Regions from separate parts of the Homo sapiens genome. Here regions 1 and 3 are each linked to region 2. The links are contacts of gene promoters, found by promoter capture Hi-C in blood cells and fetal thymus (Javierre and others, 2016). All regions are on one chromosome and are shown on one strand. Each heading gives the region's core, a stretch centred on a gene start or on the middle of the fragment in contact. The rest is flanking DNA. Distances are from core to core; before and after follow the strand shown.

Region 1 (2,790 bases), core at 82-2,581, 420 kb after region 2:
GCAACACTGAAGAAACCAGAATATGTTGGAGAAAACAGCTAGTACCTTTAAGGCTGGGGGGACAAAAGGGACAAAAGTGGAGTTAGCAGAACCTGCTCCTGTTTTCTGCTGCTGAAGTGATGCTGCCAGGAGGACAGGAAGAATTCCCTTCCTCCTCCTCAGGTTGAGGTTTAGTGCCTCCCATTTTTACAACCAATAGGAAGCCAGATAGAAAGGTAGTCTGGGAAATGTAGGGCGTAGTATATGGACTCCAGCCCCAGTGTCACAGAGCATAAGAGTCGGCTTGGAGCTGAGAGCTGACTAGCATAACAGGGATCCAAGGCAGCAAGAAATACAGCCAAGCACACAGCGTGGAAACAGTCTGGTTCACTTTGCTGGCTGCCGCCACCCCTGGAACCTCCCATCATGAATGGGTTCCAACTGAGATAATTGCACTCAGCTGGTATGTTAGGGTTCAGTGAATTCTGAATGGGTTACAGATGTGGCCATCAGTGTGCTGGGAACTTAGTCCCCTGAACTTTTGGAGCTGCCATTGCAAGGCCTGCAAAGGCCAAAGCCCCCAGTGGTTGCCTTGGCTGATTAGCTAAGGCTAGGTCTGTAACCCAGCTGACTGTGTAGCTCCCAGGAATACTCACATGATGGTGGAGCCACTCAAAAATAAAAGGGGATTTAAAGGTGGAGCATCTTCCTCCCTCAAAAAAAGGAAGTGTCCACAAAAGTTATTGTTTATTTTTAACTAAAAAAATTTATATTTTAATTGATAAAAATTATATATTTATGGTGTACAACAACTTTTGAAATATGTATACATCGTAGAATGGTTAAGTCAAGTCTTACTTAAGTATTCACATATTTATCATTTTTTGTGGTGAGAAGACTTAAATTTTACTTTCTAAATGACTTTAAAGTATATAATACATTGTTATTATAGTCACTATGTTGTACAATAGATCTCTGGGACATACTCCTTTCTAACTGAAATTTTGTTTTCTTTGACCAATATCCTCCCAACACCCCCTCTTTTAGTTTCTTAATCTGTTAAATGGAATTAGCCATACTTAAGAGATGGTTTTGAGAATTTGAAATGATACGCAATTGTGACTTGTACATAGTAGGTGCTTAATAATAATTGCTTCTGGGGAGCATTGTACTACAAATTAAAACTATACATATGGCAAAAAAGCTTCAGCTGTAGTTGAAAACTGTTTGTCAAGTAGAGAATAAAGCTCAAGAGAGAATAAAGTCACCATTCTAGGTCTGTTATGCACATTTGATTACTTCAAGAATGCTTTTGTCTTGGGAGTGGGAAGAGTATGCTCCCAGGATTCGAATCTAGAGGTTGAGATTTTGAACTTTAATGATGTATTTTCAGTACTTACAGAAGTTTTCTTTTTAACCTCCTGTGGTGCTTACAGTTATGCAGATTGATGCTTGTAGGAGCTTGCTGTGACCTCTTCTCTCACACAACACACTTTCCTCCCAAGCTTTGTTGAGATTTATACACTTCATTGTTGAGAGTTTTGTATTTCTGGGTTGTGGAAGATGAAATGCATGCCTTTTGCTTACTGCTCCTTTGTTCCTTTAGGTTATCCTCTTCACGCCCCTGAAGCCTACTTTCCTTATTTCAAAAAGCATAATGTGACTGCAGTTGTGAGGCTAAACAAAAAGATTTATGAGGCAAAGCGCTTCACAGACGCTGGCTTCGAGCACTATGACCTCTTCTTCATAGATGGCAGCACACCCAGTGACAACATCGTGCGAAGGTTCCTGAACATCTGTGAGAACACCGAAGGGGCCATCGCCGTTCACTGCAAAGGTGTGTGCAAGGCCTCGGTGGTGGTGGCTGTGCTTATCGAAGGGGCGGGCCAAGGAAGAGCAAATAACATAAAACAAAACCTGTTTAGTGTCTTAGAAAAACAATGAGGTTTTAAATTTCAGACAACTGGGACACAAACTCATTTTAATAACCCCTTCTTAAAGAAACGATTGCTTGGGTGTGGACAATTGGTGGTGGTGTGGCTTTCTTGATATGCCAGTTTTTCAGACCTTACCTTTCCAGGCCCACGTGCCACAATGAGGGGAAACACAGTAGCAGTGTCTTTAGGCTGCAGGAACACCTTTAAACAGGTAAAATTCTCAAGAGACAAGGGTTGTTAGTTTTCCTCTCTCCTTTGTTTTTTTTCAGAATTGCCCATCTCTTCTCCATCCTCTTGCACTGTCGTGGTTCTGTTTTATGACCCAGTTATCTGGACCCCCATTCCAGTCTCTGCTTTTCCCTCCCCTCCTAGTCTTTGGCTTCATGGAGCAGAGCGTCTTCCATGCCTGTTGCTAGGGGCAATCCGCTAGCTTACAATGCTGCTGATGTGATGCTGCCTCATGGAATAAACTTAAAGAGTTTGTTTTGCAAAAATCTCTGATCTCTGGGGGTGGATACTTTGGGGCAGGAATTGTTCAGACTATAGAAGGTTTAGGATTGCCAGATTTAGCAAATAAAAATACAGGCTGCCTAATTAAATTTGAAAGTTAGATAAACAATGAATACTTTTAAAACAAAAAGTATAAATATGTCCCAAATATTGCAGGGAACATGCATTCTGTATTTTATCTGGCAACCCCATGTCAGCTACTCAGAAAATATGACATGCCATTTGCTCTAAGCTTGTTTGACTTCGAGGAGGCTTAAAATCCACTCCATTCCAGATCTTTCGGTATGGATAATACTGGAAATATTCCAGATATTTTACTGGGTCTTTGATTTCAGCGAGGAGAAATCACTAGGGCCGCCCTGGG
Region 2 (2,766 bases), core at 59-2,558:
CTTACACCAAGTACTTTTCATCTTACACTGTTTCTGAGTCAGGATTCCAGGAGTGGCTAAGCTAGGTGGTCCTACCTCTGGGTCTCTCATGAAGTTGTAGTCAGCCAAAGGCTTGACCAAGGTTGGAGGATCTACTTCCAAAGTGACTCACTCCGTGGCATTTGGTAGGAGGCTACAAACAGTTCCTGGACAACTGGATCTCTCCATAGGCTGCTTGAGTGTCCTGAAAACACGGAAGCAGGCTTCCCCAGGCTCCAAGCCCCAAAATGAATGAAAAAGAGACCCGCAAAGGAAGATGCAGTGCCTTTTATGACCTAGCCTCTGAAGTCAATACTGTCACTTCTGTTTTGATCTATCAAGAGTCACTAAGCCTAGTCTACACTCAAGGGGAGGGGAATTAGAGTCCACCTCTTCCAGGGAGGAATATCATTGAATCTGTGAACATATCTTAGAACTACCATACCTAGTTTCAGTACTTTTAAACATTCGCCATTTTGCTTTGTCCCTCTCTTTTCCCCACCTACATATACATACACATACATGTTACTCCCTAACCATCTGAGAGTAGGGAGCATGCGGTGTATCCCTATCCCTCGTGTTTTTCTCTTAAGGAAAAGGATATTCTATTATACAACACGGTAGTTATCAATATCTAATTTTAACATTGTGATACTTTAAAGTCCACTTCCACTTGTGTAAATTGCCCTTTCTAGCAATGTTCCCATCAAATTTATTTTTAAACAATACAGTAAAAACGTAGAGGGCCACAAAGGGTGACATCGGTCAGGTAAGGTATTTTTTTTGGCAGGGAATAAAAAAGGTCCTGGGTCTAGGGAGGTAAACAAGCGTGAGCCAGCTGAGTTCTAGCGGGGGTCCCTGAACACCAAAAGGACAAGACTGTTTCTGAAACACTACATTATCTCTTAAGTTACCCATTACTTACGGAAAATGATTTTTTACTGTTCCCTTCGGTTCCTGTCTTGGTTAGAACACAGCTGGAGATTGTGTTAATAGCTTAGGACGTCTGTTTCCGTGAGCAGGTAACAACTTTTTGAAACAAATTCCCTCATCTGCTGAAGAAGGGGGACAAAAACGGCCCCTATCGCCCAGAACCGTTGCGAGGATTTAGCTAGCTGGTGACGCCGGAGCACGAAGTTGTACAGGTAGCCAGCAGCACCCACGCGAGCCCGCGGTTACCCTGGCCGCGCGGCTACTGTAGAGTGGGCTGGCGGCGAGCGGGCGGGGCGGTATCACGCGGGAGGGGCGGGGCCCGCTCGTCGGCTGATCGCACGATTGTGACGCGCCGCCGGAGGCAGGCCGGGCCCTCAAGATGGCGGCGGGCGCCCAGAGCGGCTCGGCCCGGCAGTAGTGGTGGGACGGCACTAGCTGCTGGGGCCTGCCGCCCCGGGAGTGGCTGCAGCAGCGCCAGGAATCGAGGATGGTAAAATGACCCAGGGGAAGAAGAAGAAACGGGCCGCGAACCGCAGTATCATGCTGGCCAAGAAGATCATCATTAAGGACGGAGGCACGGTGAGCTGAGTTCCGCGCCGGCGAGCGTCCCTCGGGGCCCCCATCCGGTCTCTCCTTCAGACCCCCACACTGCCGTCTCTAGGCGTCCCGGTGCCTCCCTCCCTTCCCCCACCCTGTCCGAGCTGCCGGTGCCTCGGGGTCGCGGACCCGCATGCCGCCGCTCCGGGAATCGTCCTCCGCTGCTCGGGCTTGCGGCCTCCGGGGCCCGTCCTCTTTCTTTCCCGCACCTGCCGCCCTCTGCTCTGGCCGCCTCTGCAGGCCCTGCGGCCTCGAACCCCACGTGCGCCTCCGCCGCGGGGAGGAATGTGCGGGGCTCCCCCGGCGGCCCGCCCGCCGCGCCCCTCGTCGCCGCAGCCTCGCCTCGCCTTCGCCGCCAGGCCCCGCGGAGCCGTCGCCGCGCTTGTCAAGGGGCTGGGAACCATCCCTGCTCTCCCATATGTTGCTAACGGGGTGGCGTCTGGCGCGGGGATCCCGCTGCGGCCCCGTAGTACGTTCGCTTTCTGTTTCCACGTCTCTCTGCGTCGGTGCTCCGGCTCTGGGCTGCTTACAGTAAACCCTGACCGGAGATGGGCTTCCCTCACTTCCCGGAGTCGGAAGCATGACGGCAGACACCTGGGGCCTACATTCGAACCTGCTAGTTTTCAAAGAAAAGTCATCACTGTGTGTCTTAAGATCAAAAGTATTAGAATCAGTCATGGCCTAAGGATCGGAGGAGGACACTTTGAAGGGAAGAAAGGTTTGCTTTTTAGAAACAGTTGTCATCACAGTAAACTTTATGCAGTGTGTAGTTAACCAGCTGGGGACGTAGGATTTTTAATTGAAAAACAAAACAAAACAAAACTGTTTTATGCTAACATTTCTCCGTTGCTACACTGTGTGGTCTTTGTTGCATCCGCTGATACCGCGTTCTGAAATAGAATGGAAAGGTGATATATATGTTTCACTTACCTGAAGTGTGCAGAAATTGTACCATTAATTCCATTTCTGTTTATATCTTATTGGAGCCGCGATCAACTGCTAGCACAGTAGTAAATGTGTAAGTAGGCCACCATTGAGGATTTGCTGAATTCAGTTGAAAAACGTGACAAAATTTTATGACATTTCAGAACACGGCCCAGTCAATATGCCAAAGTTTAGAAAACTTGAGACATATGTAATGACTTTGGAATATATTTTTAGTTTAACGTTTATTATATGTTATAGCTTTGACATTTATTGAAAAAAAGAAACAAATTC
Region 3 (3,004 bases), core at 129-2,628, 400 kb after region 2:
CAATATTACCAAGGTGCATTTCCAGTAATGCCAGTTAAGAGCTTCTATGGAGACGTTACCCAACATATAACAGTTGATTATAGCATTTGGAAAATATGCCTGAGGGAAAAAATAATTTATTTATCGTCACTATTATTATTTTGCCTTTTCTACCATCTGCTACAGGCCATTTGTTTTATAACACTTAAAAAATTTAGAAAGTTCACACTGGAATATCGCTGCCTGTAATTATGGTAATTAGTAACTCAGTATAGAAAGTTGTGGCATCCTTCCTGTTGTAGAGGAAAGGTATGTAAACTTGTTTCATCAAATGTTGGGGTTAACTCAAAGACAAATGAGATTTTGGAGGATCTGATAGATTGTGCAGCATGTCTTTAAGCACCTGAGACATTTCCTGTAAGTTCATTCTCTTACATAAGGCACCATATTCTGGGCTATTTTTGTGTGGCAACGAGTAGTACCATTCCAAGAACCTATACAGAGTATGGCCACATTTTTGCCTTTTTAGGGAGCACATTTCTCTGATTTTAATGTATTGGCATTGTCATAAGTATAGTTTATATTCCATGTTATGTGAACTACTATACATGGATATAAGCAAACCCTTTGAAAATACAGAGGAAAAAAAAGTGAATCCTTCAGAGAGTTTGTATATTTTTCTCACTTTTTTGTCTGGAAAGGTGCATATGGATGAACTCAGTTTTTTTTTTTTTTTTAGAATGGACTAATTTAAATAATTTGTTCTGCTTATTCTGTAGGGGTTGTTTAAACCAGTGTTATCAGAATTTTGCATTTCTAAGAATCACCTGGGAAGCTATGCTGAAAATGGTGATCCTGGGCCCCAACCACAGCAAATATGATTTGATAGTTCTGGGGTGGGGCCCAGGAGTCTGCTTCTTTCATATGAATTACCCTAAGTGTTTCTGATGCTGATGGCGCATGTTCTGTGTTTTGAAAAAACACTGATAGATGTACTGGAGCTTGGCTTGCTAGTTTCTTTTTCTATTTTTAATGACTTGATCATGTAACTTTTAAATGTACCTGTGGTTTTGTATTCTGTTGTAATCTGTATAGCTTCATGATTTATAAAATAAAAGATTCTGTTCTCTTTAAAATATTAGATCTGAGCTAGCTGGATAGTTTTTAAAAGTTCTAAGTCATTGTTTACAAAACTGAGTATGACTTTTACTTTGTGATAAAAATATGTTTTTTTTTTTAAATTGTAAGAGCAGTCAAGTATAATTCTACTTTGTCAGAAACTATCTCATGAAACAGATTCTCCCAAGGTAGAGTTTTAGGAACAAATAAGGGCCTATTAAGTAGAAATATTAAGAAATATTACATATATATTATGTATTGTATATATAAATATACTATATTATGTATTATATATAAATATACTATATTATATATAGTATATATAAATATATACTATATATTATATATAAATATATATATTCTCTCATCAAATATTATTAAGGACCTATTAAGTAGAAATATTAAGGAAGAAAAAACAGTAAAAGATGCAGGGTTTTTTTGGGGGGCTAAATATCTCCCTATGATAAAAGGAAGACAAAAACTCATAAGAATAATTGATTTTTCTTCTCCTAACAAAGAAGTTAATCACTATGATCTATTCTGTCATAGTTAGGTCTAGTTCCCAACAGGTTCTAACTATAAATTTGTTTTATTTCATTTTGTATACATATAATTTTACATACAAAACTGATGTAAATTAGAAATCAAGGCATCTTTTGTGGGGCTTTTTCATGTTATTCTAAGTGTTTTTTTAGTTCCAGTAAGACAGTCTTAATGCAATATAACCAGTTTTATAAAAAGATTTCTAGATATGCATTAAACATCAAAGGTTTCAAGCTGTCTCTTCAGATTAGTGAGGATCATTTCTGTAAGTAGGAGTTCCAGAAATGATGAGTAGAGTTTATCAATTTAGCATGGAAAAACTAATTCAAATTCTGCTTTTAGGGATTACAACATGGATTTTTTGACTTTGAGACATTTGATGTGGATGAATATGAACATTATGAGGTTTGTACATTTAATTTTTTTTACAAAACATAATTTCATGTTGATTAATTTTTTCCCCCTGTCACACTCATGTATTGCAAATCGAGTGGGTGCTAAATAAAAGCATTCTGGAGTTTTCCATAGTGGTCAGTTTTGTCCTTTCAGCCTTGGTTATTTCCTTTGAATCAGGAGTCACCAAAATTTTATTTTGGAAAAACAACATATCTATATATATTCTCTCATTTATATACAATCACTTTGCACCTTTAGTTTATAAGAAAAATCTAGTAGGGTAGTAAAATTATGTTACTTTTATTTTAGAAATCAGGTTTTATTTAAAATAAAACTGAATTTGTACCTTTTATTTATTTATTTTTGAGGCGGTGTCTAGCTCTTTTGTCCAGGCTGAAATGCAGTGGCACAATCTCGGATCACTGCAACCTCTGCCTCCCCAGGCTCAAGCTATCCTCCCACCTCAGCCTCCCAAGCAGCTGGAATTACAGGTGCATGCCACCATGTCTGGCTAATTTTTTTTTTTTTTTAAAGACAGGATTTCACCATGTTGCCCAGGCTGGTCTTGAACTCCTGAGCTCAAGTGATCCTCTTGCCTCGGCCTCCCAAAGTGCTGGGATTACAGGCATGAGCCACCATGCCAAGCCCCCTTATAATATTTTTGGTTGTATAAATTTTATTTTGAAATATGGCTGAATTTACTTAGTTCTAAAAGTTCACTGAATTTTTTTTTCCCCATGGCATCATTACAAGACTTTTGATTAATGTCTTGACTGCTCAAAATGCAGGCAAAGGCTATCTCCAAGCTGGTTTGCGCTGTAAGGAGATGTTGAAGCAGAGTAGGATAAGGAGGAGTCTAGAAGTCATTAACTTTTTCTGAAAGATGAGAAGCCTGTACAATGTGAGTAGGTTCAACATTCTCGGAAGGTGAACTCATCCGTTGGGTTTCCCCAGAGGAGTAATACAA

The links. The method cuts DNA at HindIII sites, captures the fragments that hold promoters and counts their contacts. A CHiCAGO score of 5 or more calls a contact.
Region 1: a contact is called between a fragment that was not itself captured here and the fragment with the promoter of SLC71A1 in region 2, in 1 of 17 cell types (erythroblasts). The highest score is 6.9, in erythroblasts.
Region 3: a fragment that was not itself captured here is called in contact with the fragment with the promoter of SLC71A1 in region 2 in 2 of 17 cell types (erythroblasts and fetal thymus); the score reaches 7.0 in erythroblasts.

What each region holds. Positions count from the first base shown.
Region 1 is chr1:100,461,066-100,463,855 of GRCh38, forward strand. CDC14A (cell division cycle 14A) reads left to right here. Exons shown (of 16, transcript NM_003672.4): 9 at 1,586-1,816. Among named protein-coding and RNA genes, the nearest start is that of GPR88, 76 kb to the right of the region's middle. RefSeq lists an enhancer at 1,083-1,704. The HindIII fragment of the contact is 301 bases long and covers 1,182-1,482 here.
Region 2 is chr1:100,036,787-100,039,552 of GRCh38, forward strand. It overlaps SLC71A1 (solute carrier family 71 member 1), which reads left to right and starts at 1,309. Exons shown (of 12, transcript NM_033055.3): 1 at 1,309-1,530. The coding sequence starts at 1,447. It overlaps LOC124904230 (a long non-coding RNA gene), which reads right to left and starts at 1,222. Exons shown (of 7, transcript XR_007066251.1): 1 at 944-1,222. RefSeq lists enhancers at 781-1,383, 1,346-1,625 and silencers at 1,106-1,285, 1,746-1,935. The HindIII fragment of the contact is 6,938 bases long and covers 1-2,766 here.
Region 3 is chr1:100,440,951-100,443,954 of GRCh38, forward strand. CDC14A (cell division cycle 14A) reads left to right here. Exons shown (of 16, transcript NM_003672.4): 7 at 1,984-2,046. Among named protein-coding and RNA genes, the nearest start is that of CDC14A, 90 kb to the left of the region's middle. The HindIII fragment of the contact is 5,917 bases long and covers 1-3,004 here.